2 separate regions of the Homo sapiens genome follow, and region 2 is linked to region 1. The links are contacts of gene promoters, found by promoter capture Hi-C in blood cells and fetal thymus (Javierre and others, 2016). All regions are on one chromosome and are shown on one strand. The core of a region is centred on a gene start or on the middle of the fragment in contact, and the rest is flanking DNA. Distances in the headings are between cores, read along the strand shown. Region 1 holds the start of UBXN6 (UBX domain protein 6). Region 2 holds the start of DPP9 (dipeptidyl peptidase 9).

Evidence for each region. Contacts are between HindIII fragments. The CHiCAGO score rates a contact against its expected background, and 5 or more counts as called.
Region 2: the fragment with the promoter of DPP9 here is called in contact with the fragment with the promoter of UBXN6 in region 1 in 1 of 17 cell types (neutrophils); the score reaches 5.4 in neutrophils.

Annotation. Positions count from the first base shown.
Region 1 is chr19:4,455,505-4,461,832 of GRCh38, forward strand. UBXN6 (UBX domain protein 6) reads right to left here and starts at 2,290. Exons shown (of 11, transcript NM_025241.3): 1 at 2,111-2,290. The coding sequence starts at 2,193. RefSeq lists silencers at 2,092-2,161, 2,192-2,241 and an enhancer at 2,352-2,551. The HindIII fragment of the contact is 12,393 bases long and covers 86-6,328 here.
Region 2 is chr19:4,720,362-4,726,689 of GRCh38, forward strand. DPP9 (dipeptidyl peptidase 9) reads right to left here and starts at 3,481. Exons shown (of 22, transcript NM_139159.5): 1 at 3,313-3,481; 2 at 2,138-2,190. TRG-TCC1-1 (tRNA-Gly (anticodon TCC) 1-1) reads left to right here and starts at 3,709; the gene lies at 3,709-3,780. TRV-CAC3-1 (tRNA-Val (anticodon CAC) 3-1) reads right to left here and starts at 4,346; the gene lies at 4,274-4,346. LOC105372250 (a long non-coding RNA gene) reads left to right here and starts at 2,519. Exons shown (of 3, transcript XR_936274.2): 1 at 2,519-2,625; 2 at 4,259-4,348; 3 at 4,774-5,226. RefSeq lists silencers at 3,282-3,431, 3,662-3,751, 4,202-4,401. The HindIII fragment of the contact is 17,947 bases long and covers 1-4,654 here.

The DNA of each region.
Region 1 (6,328 bases), core at 1,040-3,539:
CAGCCACAGGGACCCTTCTGGAACCTCAGCCAGGGAGCGTCAGCATCACTCCACTGCACAACGCCCTCCCACTGCAAAATCCTAAAGCTTCCCTTGGCCAGAGAGCCCTTCCCAGCCTGGCCCACTGCCCTCCCGTGGCCTGTCTCCCCTGGGCTCCCCGCAGTTCTTCCCACACCCCAGCTGCTCCCCACTGCAGGCCCCTGCACTGTCTGCACCTTCTGCCCAGAATGTTCTCCGGGGGAGTGGGAGGAGGATGGGGGTCTGGAAAGGGCTAGAGCTGCCGCAGGGAGAGAAGGAGGGGCAGATTTCCCCACAGCTGAGTCTCACTGTGTCCTGGGAGAGGCCTTCCCAAACCACCTGACGGCCCCTGCTCACCCTCCTTGGAGGCCCTGGGCACTCATCCAAGCACTCATCGCCTGAGCGCTCATCCAAGGTCTGTTGGTTTATTTGTCCATCGGCTCCCTCTAGAAGGTGAGCCCTGGGACAGCAGAGGCCTTCTCCTGTCCACCACTGCAGCCTAAAACAGGACTTGGTGCCCACCCACCCCACACACCCTGGATATGCAGTCTCGCTCCACAAGGGACCTCCGCACCGCTTCCTTTCCCAACCTTCCCCTCCAACCTTCCCCTCTCCGCCCAGGCTCTGGGCTGATCCAGCCATCACCCCGATACCCTGCATCCTTCCTATCATGCCCAGTCCCAGTGGCCCCAGCACCCCCCACCCACTATTGGTTGAATCAATGAAGGGCTCCCCCGATTTGCCCCCTTCTCTCCCTGACCCCTCTCCCTCCCTCACTCAGCCTTTGCTCTCCTGCTCTCCCCCAGGAACCCTGACGTCCTCACTATGCCCCTACCTCCATCACCACCCCACTGCCCCGTGATTCCTGACCCCCACTTCCTGCCACCTCCCTGCCTCTCCCAGCCCCCACTCCCTCACAATCCCTTCCACTATTGCTTACAGACCCGTGTCCTGGCTGCCTGGCTGACTTCCTCAGTCCCTCTCCATCAGTCCCCACCACCCTCTGGCCAGCCAGCTCCCTGCAGCGGCCCCAGCTCTCCAGTTTCCCTTTTCTCAACCCAACAGCCCTCAGCCTTGCACCTTCCCTAGCTCCACTTCTTCCCCGGCCCTCCCAGCTGGCTCAGCCCTGCTCAGGCCCTTCTCTCCAAGTCCTCCCTAGACAATCCGGAAGCCTGCCCGGCATCTATCTCCTTTCCCCTCCTCTCCCACTTCCATAATCCACTTGGCACAGTGACGTGGCAGAGAAGCCTCGCAGAGAAGCTCTTTCTCCCAGCCTGCTAAGACGCGTCTGTCTCACCCGTCTTCTCCTCTCAGGCCCCTCCCGGGTAAGAGTCCATCTGTCAGAATCCCTCACCTCCACTCTCCTCACACACCTTCCTCAGCCCCTCCCTCTCAATTCGCCAGGACATCCCAGGTCACTGACGACGCTGCCCACCCCGGCCTCCCTGGCCTTCCAGACTCTTTCTAGTCTCCCATCAGCCTCCCACGTGCTCCAGATACCAAATCCAGAACCCCTCTTCCCATGGATACCTCAAAACAACTCTTCACCACCCCACCCCACAGCTGTGCGTCCTCCTCCAAGCTCAGCTCCCATCCATGGTCACCTAGATTGCCCCAAATCATCCCGGCCTCTTCGGCCAGCCGGGTCCCCAGACAGAGCTCTCCCTCACCACCCGGCTCAGGACTCATGATCCCGTTTTTCCCCAAAGGTCGTTCCACTGACCCCCAACTGCCTACAGCCCCGTCGCCCTAATCCCCCGCCACTGCATCGGACCCTCCTGCGGCCCCGCCCCCGAGACCTCCCCTCCCGCCCCGCCCCCTGCGCTAGTTCCCCTCCCCTCGCCTCCCCCGCCGCGCCCCCGGGTCATACCCGCCCCCTCCTGCCCCGCCCCCAGATCTCTCTCCCCTCCCCCTGACGCCCACCCTCGGCCCGACTTCGTCCGCCCCCGGCGCCTCTCCCCCTCCCCTGACCCTCGCGTGCCGCTCCCAGCCCCTCATCCTCTCCGATCTCCCGAGCCGCCCAAGGCCCCAGATCTCTCTCCCCGGCCGTCCCCGCCCCGCAGGGCCTCAAGCCCCTGCGTTCCTCACGCACCCCACGGACTCTTTGAGCTTCTGACCGGGTCCCGCGCTCTTGAACTTGATGTCGGCCTTGAACTCCTGAAAGAATTTCTTCATGGTGGCGGCTGGCCCGGCGGCGGGGGGCCGCGGGGGCGGGGGGGCACGGGGCCCAGTCGGGGACGGGGCCGCCGGAGACCAGCCACCGGAAGAAAATTAAAAAAAAAAAAAAAAAAAAAAAAAAAATTTACCTCGCCGCCGGAAGTCCCGCCTTCCCCTGGCCTGCCACGTGACAATCGACTAGACGTGCCTCTCTAGCGCTCGGTGCCTTGCTGGCCCAGGGCGGCCGCTCTGTACGCTGGAGCCGCGTCTCTGTGGTTCTTCCGGACTCCGTTGCCAGGGCGACGAGTGCACCTCTCGATTGGAGACAGGGCATTCCGTGGCGCTCCCCAAACGGTGACAAACGGTGATAGGACAGGGACAGGCCAACTGAACCTCGCAGAGAAAGCACTGGGCCCTATCCCTTTCGCTGCTCAACCTAAACTAGGCGCGGTGGCTCACGCCTGCAATCACAGCACTTTGGAGGCTCAAGCGGAAGGATTGCTTGATCCCAGAAGTTGGAGACCAGCCTGGCAACATGGCAAAACCTCGTCTCTATAAAAAAAAAAAAAATAAAATAAAATAAATTAGCCGAGGGTGGTGGCGCGCGCCTCTCAGCTACTTGGGAGGCAGAGGCGGGAGGATCGCTTGAACCCAAGAGGTCGAGGCTGCAGTGAGCTGTGATCAAGCCACTGCATTCCAGCCTGGGCGACAGAGAGAGACCCTGTCTCAAGCAAAACAAAAAAAATTCCAACCTTCTCTGTCTCCCCAGAGCTTACGTGATAAAATCCCAATTCAATGTTGGGTATTGGAGGCCCCCACGATCTGGCCTGTTTTGGTGCCTGAAGCACCCCCCCGCCACCATCACCACGTACCCTAGGTAGGAGCTGTTTAAGAGGATGCACCTGGGCCGGGCGCGGTGGCTCATGCCTGTAATCCCAGCACTTTGGGAGGCCGAAGCGGGCGGATCACAAGGTCAGGAGATCGAGACCATCCTGGCTAACACGGTGATACCCCGTCTCTACTAAAAATACAAAAAATTAGCCGGGCATGGTGGCAGGCGTCTGTACTCACAGCTACTCGGGAGGCTGAGGCAGGAGAATGGCGTGAACCCGCGAGGCGGAGCTTGCAGTGAGCCGAGATCTCACCACTGCACTCCAGCCTGGGCGACAGAGCGAGACTCCGTCTCAAAAAAAAAAAAAAAAAAAAAAAAAGAGGATGCACCCAATGCACCCAATTGGGACCTGGGGATTGGGGATCCACTTTGGTGGACACCAGTTAATAGTGGCGTACTTTGGTCTGTGCAATCCACAAAGAAGATACACAAAGTGACAGTTAAAACAAGCCTCAAAAAATGGGAGTTGGGGGTCAGACGTGGTGGCTCATGCCTCTAATCCCAGCACTTTGGGAGGCCGAGGCCGGCGGATCACTTGAGGTCAGGAGTTTGAGACCAGCCTGGCCAACATGGTGAAAGCCTGTCTCTATGGGCACCGGTAATCCCAGCTACTCGGGAGGCTGAGGCAGGAGAATCGCTTGAACCCGGCAGGTGGAGGTTGCAGTGAGCCGAGATCTCGCCATTGCACTTCAGCCTGGGCAACAGAGGGAGACTCTGCCTCAAAAAAGAAGGAGTTGGAATGAGATACACAGAGACTGATGGAGGAGAAGCCTCCAGGTGAGGAAACAGCCCACCCCAAGACTGAAATTGAAATATCATGGGTTGGACGGGTGGCTCAGGCCTGCAGTCCCAACATTTTGGGAGGCCAAGGTGGGAGGATTGCTTTAGCCCAGGAATTGGAGGCTGCAGTAAGCTAGGATCACGCCACTGCACTCCAGCCTGGGCAACAGAGCCAGACCCTGTCTTATTAAAAAAAGAAAAAAAGGCCAGGCACGGTGGCTCATGCCTGTAATCCCAGCCCTTTGGAAGGCCGAGGCGGGTGGATCACGAGGTCAGGAGATTGAGACCATCCCGGCTAATACGGTGAAACCCTGTCTTTACTGAAAATAATTTTTAAAAAAATTAGCCAGCCTTGGTGGCGGGCGCCTGTAGTCCCAGCTACTTGGGAGGCTGAGGCAGGAGAATGGCGTGAACCCAGGAGGCAGAGCTTACAGTGAGCCGAGATCATGCCACTGTGCTCCAGCCTGGGCAACAGAGCAAGACTCCGTTTCAAAAAAAAAAAAAAAAGGAAAAGAATTGGGCCAGGTGCGGTGGCTCACACCTGTAATCCCAGCACTTTGGGAGGTCAAGGCGGGTGGATCACTTAAGGTCAGAAGTTCAAGACCGACCTGGCCAACATAGCAAAACCCCGTCTCTATTAAAAATACAAAAATCAGCCGGGTGTGGTGGTGTGTGCCAGTAATCCCAGCTACTTGAGAAGCTGAGGCAGCAGAATCACTTGAACGCAGGAGACAGAGGTTGCAGTGAGCTGAGATTGCACCACTGCACTCCAGCCTGGGCGACAGAGCGAGACTCTGTCTCAAAAATAAATAAATAAAGTAAAAAAATAAATAAATAAAAGAAGAATACAGTGCAACCCAAACTTCAATCTTTCTGATCTCCAGTCTCCTATCTATGAAATGGGGATAAGAATAACACTCTCTATAGATTGTAGGGGTGATCATGTGATTAGAAAGTTCTCAGTATGCCGGGCACGGTGGCTCATGCCTGTAATCCCAGCTACTCAGGAGGCTAAGGCAGGAGAATCACCTGAACTTGGGAAGCAGAGGTTGCAGTGAGCCGAGACTGCGCCACTGCAATCCAGCTTGGCAACAGAGCAAGACTCCGTCTCAAAAAGAAAAGAAAAGAAAATTACAGCTCATTGTTGTGAATAAGGAATTGTATACCCTATAACTCAAATAAAGGTACAACACTGGGCCAAAGTCACACAGCTGGAAAGTGGCAGAGACCCATCCCACTTCTCCAAGAATAAAATCCTATGGGGTTCCTCAGCCTGGTCTAAGGAGATCCTAACATTAATAGGCCCTAATAAATTTCTATTTCAGGTTCTAAGTATTCTGAGGGTTTCAGAAACCCCGTTTCTTGTTATCACCCACCTTTCCACCTCTGCCTCAGTTACCTGGAAGTATTTCCAGCTCACCTCTGGGCCTTTGCCTAGGCATTCTCCTTTACCAGAAGGGACTTCTCTTCCTCTGCCTAACTCAATCCTCTTCCACCATGACGCTCTCCTGGACTATCTTCCTCATGTCGGATGAGGTTATGAGATTAAATAATTTAACATTTCTGCCAGGAGCGGTCGGTGGCTCACACCAGTAATTCCAGCACTTTGGGAGGACAACATTTATTTTTCTTTTCTTTTCTTTTCTTTTTTTTTTTTTTGAGATGGAGTCTCGCTCTGTTGCCCAGGCTGCAGTGCAGTGGCACAATCTTGGCTCACTGCAAGCTCCACCTCCCAGGTTCACACCATTCTCCTGCCTCAGCCTCCCGACTAGCTGGGACTACAGGCGCCCGCCACCACACCCGGCTAATTTTTTGTATTTTTAGTAGAGACGGGGTTTCACCGTGTTAGCCAAGATGGTCTCGATCTCCTGACCCCGTGATCCGCCCGCCTCGGCCTCCCAAAGTGCTGGGATTACAGGCATGAGCCACCATGCCCAGCTTTCTTTTTTTTTTTAGACAGGGTCTTACTCTCTTCCCCACGCTGGAGTGCAGTGGCACAATCATGGCTCACTGCAGCCTAGAACTTCTGAGCTCAAGCAGTCCTCCCCACTCAGCTTCCCAAGAAGCTGGGACTGCAGGCATGTGCCACCACACTCAGCTAATTTTTTTTTTTTTTTTTTTTTTGAGAAGGAATTTCGCTCTTGTTGCCCAGGCTGTAGTGCAATGGTGCGATCTCGGCTCACCACAACCTCCATCTCTCGGATTCTCCTGCCTCAGCCTCCCGAGTAGTTGAGATTACAGGCACCCGCCACCATGCCTGGCTACTTTTTTGTATTTTTAGTAGACACAGGGTTTCTCCATGTTGGTCAGGCTGGTCTTGAACTCCTGACCTCAGGTGATCCGCCTGTTTCAGCCTCCCAAAGTGCTGGGATTACAGGCGTGAGCCACTGCACCCGGCCTCCGGGTAATTTTTTAAAAATTGTTCAATCTTGCGCAGTGGCTCACGCCTGTAATCCCAGAACACTGGGGGGCCGAGGGAGG
Region 2 (6,328 bases), core at 2,231-4,730, 270 kb after region 1:
ACCTGCTCGCTCCTAGCACACAGCTTCTGCACGACGCACCCCGTGGCCTGAAATGCCAGTTCCTGCTTTTGATATGACTTGCTCTTTCTTGCCCTGTGGCTCCTGATACCACCTCTTCAGAGGTCTTTCCTGAGCACCCCATCTGAAGATGCTACCTGGCGACCCCCATCACCACACCCAGACGCTGATACAATGGCCTGGACCATAATTCCAGTTGTCCCCTTCCCCAGGGAGAGTGGTTCTCAACTGGGGGCGATTTGGCCCCTCAGGGGACACTGGACAATGTCTGGAGACATGTGTGGCTGTCACAACTCGGGGGTGACCCTGGCATGGAGTGGGTGGAGCCCAGAGATGCTGCTTAGCACCCCACAGTGCCCAGGATAACCCACCTCAGAGAAGGATCCCACCTCAAATGTCAGCAATGCCAAGCCGGAGACCCCTGCATCCATTACTTGGGGAGAAACTTGAGTTCAACGCCTACGCTCATATTAATACTGGAATAAACTTCCCATGGAACAAGCATTCTAAACGAGGGGGACCCCCAGCTCCTGGGATTCACCTCCTTTCTCCCTCCCCACTCAGGGTGAGGATTTCAATGTGTGCAGCCTCCTGGGACCTTAGTAGGGCAGAGGATCATGGGACGCAGTCTCTTGGGGATCCATGGAATCCCCTAACCCAGGGGTCTCACCTGGGGATAACCGGCCCCCCCAGGGGACATTTTTGGTTATGACGACTGGGACGGTGAGGGGAGGCATGTGGCCAGTGGAGGCCAGCGATGCTGCTCAACCCCTTACAGTGGACAGAACAGCCCCCCTCCCACTCCTCTGCCAAGAATGACCCAACCCTAAATATCAGTGGCAAAGCTGAGAAACCCTGCTGTGGGTAAGGGGGCACTCCTCACGGGAATATCAGTTCCACAGGGCAGGCCACATCTATCCTGGTCCCAACAGATTGCCTGAGCCCAGACCATGCCTGGTCCTCAACAAACATTTCAGGTTGAATGAATGAGCTACTGTGCTTTCTTGGATGCCGTCTAAAGTCAAAGGGGCCCCTTGTTTGGTTGGTGCCCAACTACCTTCTCAGACAAGCCAGGTCCCATGATGCGCAGTTGCCCAAAGGCTTAAAGAAGAGAGGGCCAGCTGGGTACAGTGGCTCACGCCTTTAATCCCAGCACTTTGGGGGGCTGAGGCGGGCAGATCACCTGAGGTCTGGAGTTCGAGACCAGCCTGGCCAACATGGTGAAACTCCAGCTCTACTAAAAATACAAAAATTAGCCAGCTGTGGTGGTGCAAGCCTGTAATCCCAGCTACTCAGGAGGCTGAGACAGAAGAATTGCTTGAACTCAGAAGGCGGAGGTTGCAGTGAGCTAAGATTGTGCCATTGCACTCCAGGGGTGACAGAGCGAGGTTCTGTCTCAAAAACAAAAGAAGAGAGGGAAGCACATGGGGACAGGACTGAGATTTTAAGGGAAGAGGTTAAGCATAAAGTCACCACGAAAAATCACTGGCCATACTCTCAGTCCAGTGGTGAAAAGCGTGGGCTCTGGTCTCAGAGAGAAAGGTTCAAATCCTGACTCTGCCACTTCTGGGGAAGTCGCTGAACCTCTCTGAGCTTCCACTTCCCCAGCGAGAACATGGTATGACAGTATCTACGCCTGGGGCCACCAAGGGAATTGAATGAGACTGCACACATACAGCTTTTAACACAGTGTCTGATGTAGCACAAACTAAATGACAGCTAGCATTGTCAACTAAACAAGATACTCAAAACCACAGGAAGGGGGAGACTCAAACTAAAGTCCTTTCAGGGCCAGAATCCACACCATTTACTGACCGGGTCAGGCAGTGTAGGTGGATCCAGGCACCCCTCCACCAAATCCTGCTGAAATCAGCACTCTCCCCTTCCTCTCCTCAAAGCCTTCAAAAAGCTCCTTCCAGGGGCAGCTAGAGGGGGACAGGGGTGGAAAGAAAAGCCTCCAGCAGGCGCACAAAAAACTGCAGCCACTGCCCTGCGGAGGACAACCATCCAGGGCCATAGAAAACCATTTCCTGCCCATGTCTATATTCTAGAGCAGGCAAAGGAATCCCACCAGCCCACACCCCAGCCTTCCTGGCTGCCAAACCCCAGCACAACTGACCTTCTAAAGGGTCCAGAGAGCCTCCATTCCAGCTGCAGGCGTGGGACACAGACCTTTATAGGATAAACATGTCATGAATGTGGCAGGTTAATGGAAGCACCGGCCAGCCGTTCAGCCTCCCCCACTCAGGAGCTGCAGACTGTCAGGCCCGATTCTACCTGGCTAGATTCTAGCTCTGCCTTGAAGCCCTGCAGCACTGTCTGCATGCCCTGGACAGAATCTGGGAGAGAAGCCATCCCACGGGCCCCGATTCCCCTGGGACCCAGCAGAGGAATGCAGGGATTGGTGCCTACGGTCCACACCCCCTGGGCTTTAGTCCCAGCTCCTCGAAAGCAGGTTGGTTCTTGCCTGGGAGGCAAGTGACTTCCTCCTGGGGCCCCTGGGGAAGACCAGGGGGTGGGGGCCAAGGGAATAGACCACTTTTGATGGCTCAGAGGCAGCGTGAACAGGGAAGTGTCAGGGCTGGCCTAAGGCTGTGTGGGAAGAAGGTAGGCGGTTGGACAGGCCTGAGAAGGGAGGCTGAGAGAAGGGGGCTGAACCCTGTGGGCTGGACCCTTGGAAGACAGCTATGCTAACCACTACACCACCAACGCCTCGGCAGGAAAAAGAGTCTCTGGATACCCTTAATAGAGGGATCAAGTAGGGTTGAGGATCAGGACTGGATTGGGGAGACCAAGCCTCGGGGCGAAGGTTGGAGGAAGTGGTAAAGGAGTGAGGACAGGATGCAGGTCGAGGGAGGTGGCCTCTGTGCATATACAGCATTTGCATGGGGAGAGGGAGGAGATCGGGACCTCCAGAGCCTGCACGAAAGGGGAGAGGGTGTCAAGGTCTGCAGCTACGAGGACGTTCTTGGGTGCGGCCACCTCCGGAAGGGGTCAGAGCCTGGTGGCCTGGGCAGCAACGGGATGGGTGGGGAAGCCCATCAGGGAAGGGGAGAAACTGGGAGGTGGCCTGGCCAGCGCAGGAATCGGGGAGGGAAAGAAGGTGGAGGAGGGCCTGGGGCGGAGAGGAAACGAGGCAGGGGGCCGGAGGGACCCACAGACGGGTGCATGGAGGCTCCGGGGTGCGGGGAGGCCAGGCGATGGCGAGGGCAGGGTCAGGGCCGAGGCGGGGCCGGTCAATGGCGGGTTCAGGGTCGCGGCCGGGGCGGGACGAGGCGCGCGGGCGCTGCTCACCGGGACGTGGGGCGGCGGCCGGACTGGGCAGGTCGTCCCGGGTCCAGCGGCGCCTCACGGTCGCGGCTCCATGCCCGGGACTGCGACCCCGGAAGTGGCGGGAGCGGGGGACGACAGCCGCGGCGGACACAGGGGACCCGCCGGCTCAGGCACCTTTGACCCGGAAGTTGAGCGACCCAGGCGGCGGCCTGGGATTGGACACCACCAGGCACGTACCAAGGCGTCCGCGGCGCTTGGGGGGGAGCCCGCGGCGCGGCGGCCTAAGGTGCGTAACGCCCCATGAACGACATCTTCCGGTGGGTTAGGGAGAGACACCCCCCTGTGACTTGGTATCACTCAGTCAAACCCATGATCCCCCACTATTAAGGATATCCGGAGAGGATGCTACCTATCAGGGCGTTGGTGGTATAGTGGTTAGCATAGCTGCCTTCCAAGCAGTTGACCCGGGTTCGATTCCCGGCCAACGCATGCGGTACCACTTTTGCGAGTTTGAAATTTTCATTTTAGTTTTGAGACGGAGTCTCGCTCGGTCCCCCAGGCTGGAGTGCAGTGGCGTGATCTCCGCTCACTGCAACCACCACCTCCCAGGTTCAAACGATTCTCCTGCCTCAGCCTCCCAAGTAGCTGTGATTACAAGCGCACGCCACCACGCCCATCTAATTTTTGTATTTTTAGTAGAGATGGGGTGGGGTGGGGCGGGGTGGGGCGGGGTGGGGGGGGGGGGGCGGTTCACCATTTTGGCCAGGCTGGTCTCGAACTCTGACTTCAGGTGATCCGCCCTCTTCGGCCTTTCAAAGTGCTGGGATTACAGGCGTGAGCCATCAATCACGGAAAATTTTTTTAAATCCCATAAAAATGTCTAAAAGGCAGGAGGAAGGCGGAAGAGAAAGAATGGGACTAGAATCGTTCTTTCGGTGAATTTCAAATAGTATTACTCTCCGGTTAGGAAAAACAGCTGACCTGTTTCCGCCCGGGATCGAACCGGGGACCTTTCGCGTGTGAGGCGAATGTGATAACCGCTACACTACGGAAACCGGTAGGCGTCAGGGTTCTTTAAATTCTCCTATAGAGATAATGTTGCAGTGATAGTTGCGTTGTCCCACCAAAGAAACACTGGCTACAGTCAGCTAAAGCAATATCCGCTCTTCCTGAATATCTGTTATTGTATTTGATACAGTAGAGACCGAAAGAAGGAAAATAAGGAAGACAAAAAGAAATCCAATAAACACCCTTTCCAACACACCCACCCACCCACACACATGTTTATCACTTTATCATAAATCCACCTTCCATTAAAACAATGCACGTCAAACGGCCCACAAACCCATCCGGGGTCAAATGAAGCTTTTCATCTCATAGATATCAATCTATACTTGATATCACATTAGTTTCTGCAGATATTCACCATTTTGCTTTAGATCAAACTACTTTTTTGTGTGTTTTGTTTTTTGTATTTTTTAGAGAGAGTCTCGTTCTGTCGCCTAGGCTCGAGTGCAGTGGTACGATCATCCCTCCCTGCAGCCTCCACCTCCTGGGCTCAAGCGATCCTCCCACCTCAGCCTCCTGGGTAGCTTGGACCACAGGTGTGGACCACCACGCCTGGCTGAATTTTAAAAAATGCGTTTGTAGAGACGGTGCCTTATAGCTGGGACTACAGGCGTGTGCAACCACTCCCAGCTAACTTTTGTATTTTTTGTAGAGACTAGAGGGCCTGCACTATGTTGCCCAGGCTGCTTTCCAGCTCCTGACCTCAACGTGATTCGCCCGCCTGCAGCCTCCCAAAGTACTGGGATTACAGGCATGAGCCACCGCGCCCGACCCCAACTACACTGTAAAAGAGCTTTCTGAAAAGAAAAACTGTGTGTGTATGTGTTTACCTTCCGATGGAGTTTTGCTCCTGTTGCCCAGGCTAGAATGTAGTAGCGCAATCTCAGCTCACTACAACCTCCGCCTCCCGGATTCAAGCGATTCTCCTGCCTCAGCCTCCCAAGTAGCGGGGATTACAGGCACCCGCCACCACGCCTGACTATATTTTGTATTTTTACTAAAGATGGAGTTTCGCCATATTGGTCATGGCTGGTCTCGAACTCCTGACCTCAAGAGATCCGCCCGCCTGAGTCTCCCAGAGTGCTGGGATTACAGGCATGTGCCACCACGCCAGGCCTCTTTATTTTCTTAAAGAGACAGTAGAAGAGGTGGGAAGATGATGGCAAGAATTTAGAATCAGACTGCTGTAAAATTCTGCACACCCTCACTCCTGCGGGGCTGGGATTAGGGTGAGGAGACTAAAGCATTGTAAGGCACTGGCACCAGGTGCAAAAATTAAGGTGGTGCCAAAAAACTCAATAATCAAGATAAATAATATTTCAATACATCTTTTTTTCTCTCTCTGTTGTCGCTGGAGTACAGTGGCACAATCTTGACTTACTGCAACCTCCACCTCCCAGGTTCAAGCTATTCTCGTGCCTCAGCCTCCCTAGTAGCTGGGATTACAAACATGAGCCACTATGCCAGGCTAATTTTTGTATTTTTCGTAGAGATGGGATTCCACCATGTTGGCCAGGCTGGTCTTGAACTTCCGAGCTCAAGTGATACGCCCGCCTCCGCCTCCCAAAGTGCTGGGATTACAGGCGTGAGCCACTGCACCCCACCATAATATTCTTTTAAAAATTAGCCGGGCGCAGTGGCTCACGCCTGTAATCCCAGCACTTTGGGAGGCTGAGGAGGGCGGATCACGAGGTCAGGAGATCGAGACCATCCTGGCTAACATGGTGAAACCCCGTCTGTACTAAAAATACAAAAAAATTAGTCCCAGCTACTCGAGAGGCTGAGGCAGGAGAATGGCGTGAACCCGGGAGGCGGAGCTTGCAGTGAGCCGAGATCGCGCCACTGCACTCCAGACTGGGCGACAGAGCGAGACTCCCTCTCAAAAAAAAAAAAAAAAGAAAGAAAATTTAATTATTGGTTGGCCGGGAGCGGTGGCTCACGCCTGTAATCCCAGCACTTTGGGAGGCCA